Regions from separate parts of the Homo sapiens genome. Here all the other regions are linked to region 2. The links are contacts of gene promoters, found by promoter capture Hi-C in blood cells and fetal thymus (Javierre and others, 2016). All regions are on one chromosome and are shown on one strand. The core of a region is centred on a gene start or on the middle of the fragment in contact, and the rest is flanking DNA. Distances in the headings are between cores, read along the strand shown.

Region 1 (3,872 bases), core at 816-3,315, 200 kb before region 2:
CTGATGAACAAATTGAGGCTAAGAAAGGTTGTATCTTGCCCAGCGTCACATATATACTAAGCTCTTTTTGAACTTCATGCTCTTTCACTCAAAGTGCAAACCTCTTAAATGTCTTCTGAATTTTATTTTGATATATCCTCTGCATTTATCAAGGATTAATGAAGAAAGAAGTTTTATGAGGAATGTTCCTGCATTTTTAGGAAAGCCATGTGGCTTGTCCATTAAATTGCAAAATGTGACTCATTTTTCTTTAGCATCTTCCATATGCCAGGGTCTGTGCTAAGTGCCAGGACTACAGCTGGAATGAGAAATGATTCCTGCCCCCAGAGTGCTTTCTTAGCAGGACAATGGGAGGTGGATTCTCTTTGTGGTGACTAGTGTGGGCTCTGCAGCAAAACTTCTGGAGTTCAGATTGCAGCTCCACTTGTATTGTTTCTGGGACCTTGAACACGTTACTTTCTAAGCCTCAATTTCCTCATCTATAAAATTAAACTAATGAAAATAGACCTAACATAGAGGACTGTTGTGAGAATCCAATGCAATAATTCATTTAAAGAACTTAGTAGCATGCTTGGTACTCTATCAGTAGAATGATCAATGTTACCTTTTTTTGGACATAAACCAGTGATCACAGTAGAAAAATTATCTGATACCAGTATGCTAAAACTCTGTTGTTTTGCCCATAGATTAAAAAGTATCAAAACTAGACTGGGAAGGGAAGGTGGAAAGAATTTCAGATCATACTTCCCTGTGGAGCTAATGTTCAATATATAGTTGATTAAGAAATTACATGTTAGTTATTCTTAGCTTTCAGTTCCAGGAACAATTTTCTGTCTTTGGGCAAGCTGGCATGCTATATTTTGCTGGTGAATAAGATTTATATAACCTATTTATTTCACATCTTATAATGACCAGGAAGCTTACAGCCAAATTTAATGCTTTATTTAATAAGATTATACAAGCCTAGGGTTTGATTAAAGTCCTTGATGATTTTTAACTTTCTTTTAAAATTTTAATAGTCTAATTATAAGTCTTTTATTTTGAAATATTCTTTGGAAGTAGATACATTATAAATAATCTGCAAACAGTCTTCCCCTGGAAACTCTGTATAAATCCAAATTTTCTAAATTACAGGTACCATTAGCAGACGAAAGGAGTTCCCATACAGGATACCCTTAGATTTGGTCCCCAAAACAGAAATCAAAAGGATTTTGAGTGTAAAAGGTAAATTAACAAATGCCATTTTTATTTCTCATTTCACTTGGTGCTTCAAACAAAAATCAAATATCCTCATGATTATTCTGTTTCTCCACTTCCGTGTTCAGTAGCACACACAAATCTACCTTTAGGAGTGCTCCACCCCTACCCACCCCCACTTTCAAACCTTTAATCACTTTTCCCACTATCTTCTTCCAACGGCCTGATTTACATGGAGATGCATTCTCCTCCAATGGAAGGTAGGGACTGTCATTGGCTCAAAGATGTCTCTAAAATGGGGGTCCAGTTGCTTCTAGACTTAAAGAACTTTCCATGGTCTTAGTGGCCAGTCCCGCTCCAGAGAAGGCCTATGGCCTGCACATGGCCTAGCGAGAACAGCACTGCTCTGCTGAAGTACTGGTCCCAGAAGGGTTGTCTTAGTCCATTTATGCTGCCATAACAAAATAACAAAATTTATAAATAATACAAATTTATTTCTCACAGTTCTGGAGGCTGGGAAGTCCAAGATCAAGGCATCAAGAGATTGGGTGTTTGGCAAGGGCTGCTCTCTGTTTCCATGAGGATATATGTTGCTGTATCCTCCTGTGGCAGAAAGTGGAAAGGCAAAAGGGCAAAAAGGGGTGAAGAACTTCCTCTTACCTCGTCTATAAGATTATTAATCCCACTCATTAGGGTGGAGCCATCATAACCTAATCACCTCTCAAAAAGCCCCACCTTCTAATACTATCACCTTGGTGATTAGGCTTCAGTGTATGAATTTTGGAGAGACATATACATTCAAACCATAGCAGGGATTCTCCTCCCCTCGCATACATTTGCAGAAGTGATATTTGCACAAGTGACTAGGTTTTCCTTAGTCTCCAGGCTTTACAATTCAATAACATATTACCGAATGATAGAATGTCCTGACTACATTTTATCTCAGATAAAACCCTAGAATCACAAAATGTTAGTACTGGAAAGGATCTTTTTGATCATGTGCAACCCTGCTGTTGGATATAAAAGAAAGTGGCATGTCCAAGGTTGCACAGTGAATTATAGACAGTCATGTCAGCACTCCCTGTTCAGGCTCTTTGCTTTGCTTCCTGGAAGGGATTGGTAAATATGGTTTATAATGTCTAAAGCTAACAGGTTGAATGGCAACTAATTTGCCATGTTCTCTTGCAGCAATCAGTCCACTGTATTACATTACCTACCACCATATTTTAGTGATTTTTAAAGTCTTTTTTTTTTTTGTTTCTTTCAAATTCATGTTCCTAACCGGATCTTTTTTTCTCACCCCGTTTCTGAGAAGCAAGTCAACTGCCTAGATAAAAAGGGAAGAACCATCTCTAGATGGTTGTTCTTCTCTCTTGAGAACATACTGTTAGAAGTTAATAAAAAGCAATGTGTCTACTTTGATCTTTTTTGTTTCAGGACTGCTTGTAGGTGAGATCTTGTCTGCAGTTCTAAGTCAGGAAGGCATCAATATCCTAACCCACCTCCCCAAAGGGAGTGCAGAGGCGGAGCTGATGAGCGTTGTCCCAGTATTCTATGTTTTTCACTACCTGGAAACAGGAAATCATTGGAACATTTTTCATTCTGACCCATTAATTGAAAAGCAGAAACTGAAGAAAAAATTAAAAGAAGGTAAAAAAAAAAAGTATTTCACATAAAAATTGGGTGATTCTAAACTAATATTTTTATTAAACTAATATTTAAGTTGTGAATTATAGAAAACTTTGTAAGAGAATTTTAGCAAAAAAATCATGAGATGGACTCTACTATATAAATAAATATTATTTCTGTAGCATTTTGGCTCAACTTACCAAAATGCCTGAATGAGAGGCAAGGCACCTGCATTCCAAACTACAGAACACTTCCTTCCTTTTCGAATGAGATCAGAATGTTCTACTTGATAATTCCCAATTCGAGCAATTCATATACTTCCTTTGAGAAGTTCAATGCTGGCCACAGAGCATATGCTTGCTGCCCAACACCAAAGGAAGCTTACCATTCTCAGGGCCTGATAAAGTGTTCTTTGAGTAGAAACGGAGGTCTGTTAAGCACCGTGTTCTTTTTCTTGTGCTTCTTAGGGATGTTGAGCATTATGTCCTACAGAAATGCTGACTACTCTTACAGTGTGTGGAAGGGTGGAAGTGCTAGCACTTGGTAAGTAGAAGATTTTGAGTTGCATTTTCATATAGTGGTTAATTAACTAAAGAATAATAACCATAATGGAAACTCCATTCCTCCAGTTGCTCAGGCTAAAAGCCTCGTCATCCTTCACTCCTCTCTTTCTCTTACCGTTCACATCTGATCCAGCAGATATGGATTCAAAATATATCCTTAATTTGACTACTTCTCACCACCTCCACCACACTATCCTGTTCCAAGACACCTTCCTCTCCCACCTGGATTCTTACACTAGTCTCCCTTAGTCTTCTGGGTTCAGCCCTTGATCCTCTTCAGTATATACTCAACACAGCAACTGAAGTGACCCTGTTAAAACATATGTTAGATCATGCCACTCAAAACCATTTAGGAGCTTCCCATCTTACCCAGAGTAAAAACCAAACTTTTTATTGTGATTTACAAAGCTCTGTATGATCTGGCTCCACCTCATGTCTCCTACTTTATCTCCTATACTCTCTTTCCCTCCAATTCAGCCCCAC
Region 2 (3,995 bases), core at 274-2,773:
CTATCAAGCATGGTAGCCATTAGCCTCATGTGGCTATTAAATTAAAATTAAATAAAATTAAGAATTTAGTTCATTTACATCAGGTACTTTTCAAATGTTCAGTAGCCACAAGAGACTAGTGACTGCCTTATTGGACAGCACCAACAGAACAACTCCATCACTGGCAAAAAGCTTATTGGACAGTGTTGGTATAAGATGTATGTGAATGTGCGTGTATGCATGTATGGCTTAGGAACCCTTACAGAGAAACAAGGATAACTTGTGCGCTGGGCATTGTGGTTCACCCCTGTAATCCCAGCACTTTTTGGGAGGCCCAGGCAGGTGGATCACTTGAGCCTAGGAGTTCAAGACCAGCCTGGGTAACATAGCGAAACCCTGACTCTACAAAAATACACACACACACACACACACACACACACACACACACACACAACTAGCTGGGCATGGTGACACGCGCCTGTGGTCCCTTCTACTCAGGAGGCTGAGGTGGGAGGATCGCTTGAGCCTGGAGAAGTCGAGGCTGCAGTGAGCCAAGATCGTGTCACTGTACTCCAGCCTGGGCGACAGAGTGATACGTTGCCTCAAAAAAAAAAAAAGGATAACTTGTGCTCTGAAGTCGGTTTGGGTTGAAATCCTATGACAGCCATTTACTATGACCTTAGGCAAGATGCCTAAACCTCTTTTGATTTCAGTTTCCCCATCTCTAAAAAGGGGCCTAATAATAGTTACTAGCTTGTGGGGTTGTTGTGGGAACTGAGTGAGATGGTACACAAAAAATGTTGAGAAAGAGTGCGTGGGATTTTTTAGCTCAGTTTTAGTTCTTGACGCCAAAAGGTTTGCATGCTTCATTTCCTTCAATCCTCAGAGCCTTCGGATGGGGACCTCACTATAATTGCTATGCAGATGAAGCAAAGTCTGAGAGGTTAAGTAACCGGGCCACAGCCAGAGTGTAAACGTTGTGATTCATTCAAATCTACATCACTTGACTGTCTCTTTTCATTCAACAACCTCCTTACCTTGCTTTATTTTTCTCCTTTGCACGAGCCTTAGTTTATCTGTCTTCCTCCTCCTAATAGATGTAAGGCCCAGGCGGTCAGGGGCTTTTGCGTTTTTTGTTCACTAACCCTATCCCCTAGAACAGCGTTCGGGATAAAGAGGTGCCCAACAGGTTGTATGAATTTGGACACGTCTCTTAACTTCTCTAAGCCACAGCTCCCTCTCCTCCGTAAAATGAGGATAATAAGAAAAACTACTGCAGAGCTGGTGCAAGATCAGATTGGAGGAGGGACATAAGCGCGCTGTGCAAACCTGGATGTACGGTACGAAAGGAACCTCCGTTCTAGGTTGCACCCAGCCTAAGCACCGTGAGGGCCGCGCGGCACGCGTTCAGCTTCCCGGGACGCTCTTCTCCCCACCCCTACTCCCGGCCTCCAGCCTCCCACCACCCACCTCCGGGCGGGGACCGGAAGTGCAGCCGCTTCCGCCGGGAGCCGCGGAGCTGAGGGACGCGCGGAGATGACGCAGGCAGCACCGGAAGCCGCTCCCCTGTGAGGCTGCGGACCGGGAGCAGCGGCCGCAGGTCCGGGTCTGTATGCGAGGCGGGGCCGGTCGGGGAGGGGACTCTTAGGCGCCCGCGGCTCTGCTGACCCGCCGCGCCTTGGCTGTTTTTCTTTCCCTGCAGGCGCCATGGCTGCGGAGCGGACCCGGCCGCTGCAAGGCTCTGGCGGTCCGAGCGTGCCTAGTAGCTGTGAACCCGGCGCGAGGTCCCGGGCCCCGGGGCGCTCGCTCAGGTCAGTGCCGCGCGGAACACGATTCCGAGAGCAAGGGACCTGGGAGCAACGAATGGGTTGATGGGATCTGGATTTTAGAGACGGGAAAACAGGGTTTTGGAGTTACTGCCTCCTACTGCCTCCATTTCCTTAGCTGCGAAATGAGTTAACAGTGATGTCCCAGGGCTACCAAACGTTTGAAAGACGATGAAGTGTGATGAGGTGGTTTATGAAGTACAAAGCGCTATACTGCGCCATAATTGTGGGTATGCCATGAAAACAGGTGTGTATGTGGGGTGCTGCTTGAAGTAAAGCAAAGATAACAATATTAATGCTAAGTAATAATGGTAACTGACATTTACTGTAGGCTTACAGCGTGCCGAGTACTGTGCTAAACGCTTTACTTGCACTGTCTTGTTTAACCCTCATAAAAACCCTTGTAGGTAATGCTCTTGGCTGTATTTTACAAGTGAGGAAACAGGGCATGAGACAGGTGAAGTGATTTGCCCAAGGTCACCCAGCAACAAGTGGAGTTGCAGAACACATATTTTATAAACATTATTTGTATTCTTTCAAAGCTTTAAAAAAATTCACCTTAAAACTAAAGGCTATTTTTTGATAGTATATTATACTTAACATGGTTTTCAGTTTTAAAAGGTATACAATAAAAAGGGACCCCTCATTCCTATTCTGCAGCTCTCCAGTTCTCTCTGGAGGCAACCAGGGTTATCAGTTTCTTGAATATTCAGAATACATTTTATGCATATGTAAGTTTATAGGTGTGTATACATTTTCAGCGCCTCTGTGCTCTTTGTTTGATAAGAAAAGGGGGAAATGAAGCCTCCTTCCCTCTACCACTAACAATTATGTTGCTTTCACTCTTGACTAGGCCAGGTTCTGATAGAGGAGGAGGGGAAAACACATTTACACTGTTTTCCAGAAGGTCCTGTCTCTAATACCTCTGAGTATAGGTTTTGGGAGAATGGGTACTGGGCAAAATATTGAGCCTGCTACTTCCTGTGCCATTCTGGGAAGGCCACTCCACTTCTTGAGCCGTAAATTTCCTCATTAATGTTAGTTAAGGGCGGCATTACTGATACCTTCCATGAGGTTATGAAGATGAAATGAGATAATGTTTACCAGTGGTACTTTTTCTTTAAAACCAATATAAATATGTGAGTTGCCTAGGTAACATAGGGAGTTAATGGCAGAACCTGAGACCAAACCCAGGCTCTCATTTTCCAATTTAGGAGTCTTTTTGTTGCATGACCCACTTTGTGATTATTGATACTGAAGGCAAGAGGGCAAGTTGAATGTTAACTCTGGGGTAGGGACGTAGGGTAAGGGGGCCAAACAGCAGGGAATGTGGGTAGAATAAGGCACCTACTGGGAAACTAGAGCCTCCAATAAACAGGTGCTCTTCTTTATAAAATTAAACCCCTAGTAAGTTTGAGCCCTTGAGTTTTTCTTCCAGGTATTTTGAAGAGAAACTTAGTGATAAGATGATAGGGTCAAAAGAGATGTTAGTGGTCATGTCCATTCCACCCTTAGTGTCACAGAAATCTTTACTGCCAGGTGTTCATAGTAGTAAAACTAACAAAAAGTACCATTTGAGTTTTTACCCGCTAGACTGTACACTGTGCTAAGCATGTCCCTGCTATATTTCTGAGTTTCACCCTTCAAGTTGGATGATGGCTTCCATTTTACAGATGATAAAACTGAAGCTTAAAAGTTAGTTGGACATGCCCATAATCACATAGGAAGTGGCTGAATCAGTAAAACATCTGGCCAACCTCCAAAGTATTTTCATTTATCACATTCTGCCTCTGTGTCCAACTGTCCTTGACTGTTCGTGGTAATGGGAAACTCACTACTCTGGAGGTAGCTATTCCATTGTTGGAAAGCGCTGAGATTTAAAAGCTCCTCATGTTGAATTGAAATCCCATTTCCTGAGGTTTGTGCAACCAGTGTATGATATTTCTAGAGGCTGCCTAAAAGAGTCCAGTTTAGACCTGTTACCTTAGAAGGCCCCCTCCAAAGTTAGTTGATCTGTTCAGAAAAGTAAAAATTGGTGTTTTTTAAATAGTGCATTCTGCAGTTAGTGAGACTTGCTTTTTTAGGGAAAAAAATGCCTTTTTCAGAATAATCAGAGGTGAACTGCTCAATCTTACAAGGGATTGAGTGGTTTAAAAGGCAATCTAAGAGTTGGGAAAATTTTTTTTATTA
Region 3 (4,155 bases), core at 991-3,490, 170 kb before region 2:
AAGCAAGGAGAAATGCAATCTTGAATAGTCTATCCTTTGGTTTTTACAAATTGGGGACAAAATGTTCCAGAAAGGCGGGTGGAATATGCTTTTGGCTCTGTTGACACTGAAGTTAGGTTGGGTAAATTCCAAAAGGAACTGTGTAGTACTTATTCATGTAGGAACTTCTTTGCCTTCAAATATTCTCTCTCCTGATTAAAAAATGCCAGCATGAAGTTTCTGTGTTCAGAGGGTCTCTTTCGTGTATTTACCTTTTTACAACCTCTCTGTTGTATTCCTAAGAAAAGAAAAAAGGATTTCATTTCCCTCACAACAAAATGCCTTTGGGGAAGATTGCTGGTTTTGGCAGCAGGCAAAGGGCTTCTTGAAAGGAGGATTTCTGTTCCACCATTGAAACAGTCTCCATGGCAACCAGTCATCAAGGCTCCAGCAACCTTTTCATAGACACTCTCCACTCGGGAGGCCCTTTTCCATCCTGCTGACAAAGTGTTTGCATCTGTGAGCAAGAGTGCTCTGCTTCTACCCATCCAATTAGGGAGATGTTCGGATGTCACATTAGAGTTCCAAGTGTTTTATATTCTGTTCTAAATTGTTAATTTGGTGAAGAATAGGGTTAAATTTTTATGAGTCAGAGATTTTAGAATACTTTTCTTTATTGTGGCAAATATTACATCTATGACTTCTAATGGGGACTGCTTTTATTTATTTATTTATTTATTTATTTATTTATTTATTTATTTTTGAGGCAGAGTCTTGCTCAGTTGCCCAGACTAGAGTGCAGTGGTGCGATCTCAGCTCACTGCAACCTCTGCCTCCCAGCCTCAAGCCATTCTCGTGCCTCAGCCTCTTAAGTAGCTGGGATTACAGGTGTGAGCTACCACAGCCAGCTAATTTTTGTATTTTTAGTAGAGAAGTGGTTTCACCATGTTGGCCAGGCTGGTCTCGAACTCCTGGCTTCAGCTGATCTGACTCAGCCTCTCAAAGTGCTGGGATGACAGGTGTGAGCCACCGCACCCAGCTGGGACTGCATTATATATGCTCTATGAGGTGTCATTGAGGAAAAGATATGCCCTGACCCCTCACTAACTTGCTTAGTATCTCCTCTTCCACCAACATTCATACCTGTAGGTGAGATCAATTCATTTTACCCCTTATGAAGCTGTCTTTTAATTTCTTCCTTTAATCCTGACTGCTCTCCCAAGCTTCACTCTCAAACATCCAGCTGCCTTTCAAGCATCTTGAGGTGAGGCTGGAACCTGAAATCAACTTTTACAGAATCACACTCCGTCTGTCTCTGCCCCAGCCTCAGCCCCGCCAGCCTGTCTCTTTTATGTCTTCTAACATCTCTTAATGGTAGCTCTAAGCCTCTGCCACCCAAAACCAAAGCCTGGGAATTATAAAGATAAATTTAAAACACAAACTTATACTTCTTCACAGTTAATTTTACAAATAAGAAAATGAGCTTAGAAAGGGGAAATGATTTGTGGGAATCTCAGAACTGGAATAAAACCCAAGTTTCCTGATTCTCCATTTCAGTATTCTTTTCTCTCTTACAAAACAAAAACAAAAACAAAACCCTCCCATTGTGCCCTTTTTGCATTTCCGCTTAAATTCCTACTAGCAGAATTCCTACTGAAAGGACAGTCCTTGAAACATTTTCTATATAAAGTAGCTATTATGGGAAATATAGAAAATAGAGAAAAGCATGAAAAAGAAAAGAGATAATTGCTTATAATCTCACCATCCAAAGTAGCTACTAATATTTGTGGGTTTGTTTGTTTGTTTGTTTGCTTTTAAAGAGGGATTCTCACTCTGTCGTCCAGGCTGAAGTGCAGTGCTGCGATCTCGGCGCACTGCAACCTCCGCCTCCCAGGTTCAAGCAATTCTCCTGTAGTTAGGATTACAGGTGTGTCCCACCAAGCCCGGCTAATTTTTTTTGTATTTTTAGTAAAGACGGAGTTTCACCGTGTTAGCCAGGCTGGTCTTGAACTCCTGACCTCAAGTGATCTGCCTGCCTTGGCCTCCCAAAGTGCTGGGATTATAGGCGTAAGCCACCGTGCCTTGCCTTAGTGTATTTTCTTCCAGCTTTTCCTGGACATGTTTATTGAATCTCTTTTCAACATACAACTGATTTTTTCCTTGGAATATGCTTCATTAGAAAATGAACTAACGTGAGAATCCAAAGACCTGGATTCTTCTGTAGCTCTGCATGAATTAGCCATGTGACCTTGAACCAGTGCCTTACTCTCATCCTGAGTTTCCCCAGCTAGTTAGCTTGGTGTGGATGACTTCTGTGTTCCAGTAGAGTGGTCTGTTGAGATTATTGATCAAGTGAGGAAAGAGAATAGATGACTCAAAGATCTCTTGCAACTCTAAAGTCAGAGATTTTAACCCATACATTGTAGAAAAGCAAATAAATGGAGACCCAAATTTAAAAATTAAGGTCTACTAAGGAAGAGTGTCCTTTCTTAAAGACTCTTATTCACTTATTTATTATATTTTCTAACCTCTTTTTTATTTTAGCTACAAGCCCAGCAGGGAAGAATCATCATCTGGATCCTCTCATGCGGTGATGGACATCTCCTTGCCTACTGGAATCAGTGCAAATGAAGAAGACTTAAAAGCCGTATGTGTTTTCTTTTAAATCGTGTTGTGAATGCTTCATTTTCTTTTCTGAATTATTTTATAGACAATTTTACTTTCTTTCATTTGAATATACCACTTTTATAGAATCACCCAGAATATTTTTTTTTTTTTGGAGGTGGATTTTCACTCTTGTTGCCCAGGCTGGAGTGTGATGCAGTCTTGGCTCATTGCAACCGCACCTCTCGGGTTCAAGTGATTCTCCTGCCTCAGCCTCCCGAGTAGCTGGGATTACAGGCATGCACCACCACACCTGGCTAATTTTTTTGTATGTTTAGTAGAGACGAGGTTTCTCCATGTCAGTCAGGCTGGTCTCGAACTCCTGACATCAGGGTGATCCACTGGCTTTGGCCTCCCAAACTGCTGGGATTACAGGCGTGAGCCACCAGGCCTGGCCAGAATATTCTTTTCAAAACATAATTAACCTAAGTTTTGATTTATCAAAGTGAAGCAGAAGCATACACTAGCATGCTCTGTAAAATATGAGTTTATATGCTAATGTGTTCAGACTTTTTCAAGAAGAGGAACTGCTCTTCAATTTCTTTGAATTACAGATCACATCCCTGCATTGTGCTATCTCATCAACAGGTGAATGCATTTAAACAAAAAGATAATGAAATGAAATTCAAGCTTCTCTCTTTTCCCCCTTAGCTTGTGGAAGGGGTGGATCAACTATTCACTGATTACCAAATCAAAGATGGACATGTTATTCTGCAACTGAATTCGGTAAGCTCCACCTGCAACCATTTTTCCTTTACTATTACTATTCAAAATATACAGGCTAAAAGATTATAAATATCATCTCTCCATAATTTCCTTAAATCCTTGAATTTGTTAAACAGATTCCCTCCAGTGATTTCCTTTGTGTACGATTCCGGATATTTGAACTCTTTGAAGTTGGGTTTCTCAGTCCTGCCACTTTCACAGTGTACGAATACCACAGACCAGGTAATCAACTCCATGCTAACATTTCTTCAGAAGAATACTTTGTATTCTTTCCAGAACATTTAGAAATCCACTAGAGTCCTGTAAATTTTATGTATTGCCTCTCTTAGGGACCACTCTTCATGAAAGTCCCAATTTGAACATTCAAAACTACTGCATACAAAATATTGTACATAAACTACTTCTTGACATTGAGCAGACCGTTTCACCTCAGTCCTCAGTTTCTTCATATTTAAAATAACTGGATTATAGTGCCTCCAACTTCAATATTCTTTGCCTCAGGTTTATCTATGGTGTTCACAGATAAATCATATCTCTCCTTTTGAGAGAAATCAACTCAATCCCCCCAGAACAACTTCTAGCCCATCTATATTCTTGTTACACTTTGCAGATAGCTCTATTATAGCAGCTGTCACATTGCATTCAATTATTTGTATGTCTTTTTCATCAACCCCAGGGTGTTTTCATTCTTGTGTCCCTAGTATCTAACGCAGCGTCGGGTATAGAATGTGAACTCAATAAATATTTATGAATGGGTGATCCCACATTTGACTATTCAGCCATTTT
Region 4 (3,941 bases), core at 570-3,069, 230 kb before region 2:
GGTCCCTATTACCTCCACTTCTACTGCAAAAATGGGAAAACAGTACCCAATTCATGTCCAAAGTAGTTCTGCAGGCTCTCTGCCTTGACCATTTGGCACCCTAGTGTCCTCACGTGGTGAAAATCAAAACCAAAATAAGATTATGTGTGTAAAACTATTTGATAAAGTACTATACAAATAAAAGTTATTACTATTATCATTATTATAGTCTACATAATGATGGAGTCAAACTGAATGTTTCCTAAAGCCTAAAGTTTTCAACATTATTTTAATGTTTCTTCTTTTTATTTTTTCCTCAACTTATTTTAAATAAGTTCAGTTTAAGCAGTATCTATGAGATATTTAAAGTATTGCCAAACAGACAGGCTTGCAAACATTAATGATGTATGATGCCAGCACTAAAGTGGCTTACAAATTAGCATCAGGTATAAGACAGGTGAAGAAAGAACTGTTGCAAGAAAGAATTCCATATGAGCTCTAAGCAAAATATTAATGCAATAGGATTCAGAGGAAGGTGAGCTTCTAGATGATTGTTGAGCAAGCAAGAACAGTGTTGTGAAGATGATCAGTCTTGAAAAATAATTAGGGTTTTGAGGCAGAGTTGCTAGACAGGGTGAAATAGAAACCCTCCAGAGAGAGGGCAGATGAAGAAGAGTAGATGGTGAAGCTTAATCTTTGAGGACAGCAGATCATCCAGTTTGGCTAAAATATAGGATATGTATAGAATGTATTAGAGATGTAATATTGGAAAGGAGTTTGGGAATATTAAAGCTTCAAATGTTATTCTTAATAGTTTAACTTAATCTTTACCTGGAGGATAACATTATTGGGCTCTTGCCAGTTGTCTGGTCATGTCCCCTTCCCTCCCCCTCCCCCCTCCCGCTCCCCTCCCTCCCCTCCCCCTCCCCTCCCCCTCCCCTCCCCCTCCCCCCTCCCGCTCCCCTCCCCTCCCCCTCCCCTCCCCCTCCCCCCTCCCACTCCCCCCTCCCCCTCCCCCCTCCCCTCCCCTCCCTCCCTCCCCTCCCGAGTCTTGCTCTGTTGCCCAGACTGGAGTGCAGTGGTACAGTCTCAGCTCAATGCAACCTCCGCCTCCTGGGTTCAAGCAATTCTCCTGCCTCAGCCTCCCGAGTAGCTGAGATTACAGGCATATACCACCATGCCTGGCACTTTTTTTGTTTTCGTTTTTTAGTTTTAGTAGGGATGAGGTTTCACCATGTTGGCCCGGCTGGTCTCGAACTCCCTTTCAGGGTTCTTTCTATATCAAGCTCCCTTTTTCTGATTTCTCTCTATGTATCTATGCTCTGTGAACACCAACCCCCATCCCCCACCTCCACTTCTGTAAGGCTCAGTTTCTGGCCTGACCCTTCCCTCTCTCCTCAATCCCTTGAATACAGTCAACTGAAACTCAGGCCACTGATGAAAAGTGGTGTCCCTTCCTGGCATCCTTCCTCAGTCCAGTCCTGTAGCTCTACTTCTCCAAGGGCTTCTCTACATACGAGCTTGTGCATAAGGCCTTGGAAACTCCTGAGGTCTAAACTCTTCTCTGCTGTGCCCCTCTGAAGCAAGACCTATGTCCTACTTACTACTGGTAAATGAATGAATGCAAGAATGGAGTGAGTGAATGAATAAGTCTGTGGAGACATATAGAGATGAAATGGATATCCATACAGATCATGATACTCCTAAAAACTGTCAACATGATGCTTGCCATTTCCTTAGGTGGATTTTCTGAAGAGGCAGAAATACCTGGCATCAAATATGTCCTCTCTCCCTACAAACTGAATTTGGTTGCTACTCCTCTTTTCCTGAAGCCTGGGATTCCATATCCCATCAAGGTAGATTGGGTGAGGGGGTAGACGTTGCTACATATGATCATCTTGTTCTGTTCATGGAAAACATGTGGGTGGCAAACAGGGTAAGAATGTTGCCATGAAGTCACAGAGGGAGCTTATTCTGTGAAACCTGCCCCTCCTGGTGGACACAGACAGGGATGGGAAATTGAAGGTCAGCTGCAGCCTTGGCAATGACTTCAAAAGTGAGGGCAAGATAGCCTTGTATTAGGCATCCCTAAATAAGCATTAAATTACATGTAATAAATAAGCATTAAATTATATGTAAATAAAATCTCATAAGACTCTAGTTCAAAAATACAAACATTTAAAATTATTTGGTGGCAAATTCTTAAAAAGCCTTAAGATGGAGATATCATTCCTTGAAAATAGACTCCTTTCTCTCACTATGTTTTTGCCTCCAGTGTGTCTCATTTGTTTCCCTCTGTCTCTGTGTTGTCTTTGTGCATAACTCTGTTCAATCTCTCGTCTCTGTATTGCTCTCTGTTCTTTTCATTTTTGCTTCTTTCCGTCCCTGAATCTCTTTTTTTCTGTCTTTTTTGCTTACTCCTCTGCATTCATTTTTCTCTCTTTCACCTTCTTTTCCTCCTCTAAATGCTGACAGTATAGAATTGAAACATTCATGTGGTTTTTAGATTTTTATCTATCATTATATATTTTATTACAAATAATATATTTTATTATGTTGATTAAATGGAAATGTTTATTCCCTGCCCTTAATTTAGAAATCCAGAGCAAAATTTTTTTTTGTTCTTTGAAAATGTGTTACTTTTTAAAATCAACTTAAGTACAATCAAAATGTGTTATTTATTATTTACTGTGGGTCATGGGCTTTTAAGAAAAAAAAGGATTTACCAAGCCCAAAGCAAGGTTTGGACATGCTTGTAGGTTCTTACATATATATACTATATATAGAAAATAATATATAACAAAGTATCATATAATGCATATACAGTAATATATAATATATATACTAAAATATGTAAATATAGCAATATTATATAGAACATAAGCTTAAAATATGTTTATATAAAAGTAAAATAACAAACTATATCTGTGTGGAATTGTGTGTGTATATATATATATATATGGCAGTGAGAGGTAGATGTTAAAGGAAAAAAGGTGTATCTATTTTTGTTTCTCATATTCAAGGGACTTATTCCCAGAAGCGATTGCCTCATTTTCTCCTTTATCCAGTCCTAAACCAATCAAAGAAATACAGAAGTTAGATAGCAGAAGACCTTATCACACCTACTCCTTGACTGACTTAATAGAATGATATTTATGTTTTGAGTTTGCTTGATTTATGGGAGAATCTATTCAAGAATGATTTAACTAAATAGAATTAAATCTTTCTATAAGCTGAGAATACACTTCTCTTTACTAAATTAAACATAAGTAAACCAGGTGTGGTGGAGCATGCCTAAATAGTTCCAGCTACTTGGGAGGCTGAGGTGGGAGGATGGCTTGAGGCCAATAGTTCAAGGTTGCAGTGCGCTATGATTGTGCCTGTGAATAGCCACTGCACTCCAACCTGGGCAACGTAGTAAGTCTCTGTCTCAGAAAAAAAATTTTCAGAAAAAAATACATAAATAATTTATACTTTGGTGGGGAGGAAGGAAAATTATTTCAGAATTGTGCTTTAAAATAAGTGATGAGCTGTTGAAATAGATTTGGATTGTTTTGACAAACAGGTGCAGGTTAAAGATTCGCTTGACCAGTTGGTAGGAGGAGTCCCAGTAACACTGAATGCACAAACAATTGATGTAAACCAAGAGACATCTGACTTGGATCCAAGCAAAAGTGTAACACGTGTTGATGATGGAGTAGCTTCCTTTGTGCTTAATCTCCCATCTGGAGTGACGGTGCTGGAGTTTAATGTGAGCTGAATTCTCCTGTTGTATTTTCTAGGACAATGTGTACTCTTGACCATGTGTTTTGGCTAGTGTGCAGAACAGATGCGGCAGATTTTACACATGAGTCCAGTGAACAGTTCCATAATTTTGCATCCAAGACAAATTAGTCCCAGAGACAATCTGCTAATCCATTGAATGGTCCTTGAGGAAGATAAATGTATCAATTTTTTATTTG

Evidence for each region. Contacts are between HindIII fragments. The CHiCAGO score rates a contact against its expected background, and 5 or more counts as called.
Region 1: a fragment that was not itself captured here is called in contact with the fragment with the promoter of FBXW2 in region 2 in 7 of 17 cell types (non-activated CD4 T cells, activated CD4 T cells, naive CD4 T cells and 4 more); the score reaches 10.6 in non-activated CD4 T cells.
Region 3: a contact is called between a fragment that was not itself captured here and the fragment with the promoter of FBXW2 in region 2, in 3 of 17 cell types (total CD4 T cells, naive CD4 T cells and non-activated CD4 T cells). The highest score is 6.7, in total CD4 T cells.
Region 4: a fragment that was not itself captured here is called in contact with the fragment with the promoter of FBXW2 in region 2 in 1 of 17 cell types (activated CD4 T cells); the score reaches 5.4 in activated CD4 T cells.

What each region holds. Positions count from the first base shown.
Region 1 is chr9:120,988,543-120,992,414 of GRCh38, reverse strand. It overlaps C5 (complement C5), which reads left to right. Exons shown (of 41, transcript NM_001735.3): 23 at 1,135-1,224; 24 at 2,635-2,847; 25 at 3,294-3,369. Among named protein-coding and RNA genes, the nearest start is that of C5-OT1, 38 kb to the right of the region's middle. The HindIII fragment of the contact is 2,287 bases long and covers 922-3,208 here.
Region 2 is chr9:120,790,944-120,794,938 of GRCh38, reverse strand. FBXW2 (F-box and WD repeat domain containing 2) reads left to right here and starts at 1,523. Exons shown (of 8, transcript NM_012164.4): 1 at 1,523-1,585; 2 at 1,682-1,790. It overlaps B3GALT9 (beta-1,3-galactosyltransferase 9), which reads right to left and starts at 1,472. Exons shown (of 3, transcript NM_001386823.1): 1 at 1,017-1,472. RefSeq lists enhancers at 510-599, 1,030-1,129, 1,192-1,822. The HindIII fragment of the contact is 2,176 bases long and covers 174-2,349 here.
Region 3 is chr9:120,962,107-120,966,261 of GRCh38, reverse strand. It overlaps C5 (complement C5), which reads left to right. Exons shown (of 41, transcript NM_001735.3): 34 at 2,524-2,626; 35 at 3,295-3,369; 36 at 3,486-3,591. Among named protein-coding and RNA genes, the nearest start is that of C5-OT1, 11 kb to the right of the region's middle. RefSeq lists a silencer at 2,788-2,971. The HindIII fragment of the contact is 2,071 bases long and covers 1,205-3,275 here.
Region 4 is chr9:121,021,298-121,025,238 of GRCh38, reverse strand. It overlaps C5 (complement C5), which reads left to right. Exons shown (of 41, transcript NM_001735.3): 10 at 1,720-1,835; 11 at 3,545-3,730. Among named protein-coding and RNA genes, the nearest start is that of C5, 27 kb to the left of the region's middle. The HindIII fragment of the contact is 2,092 bases long and covers 774-2,865 here.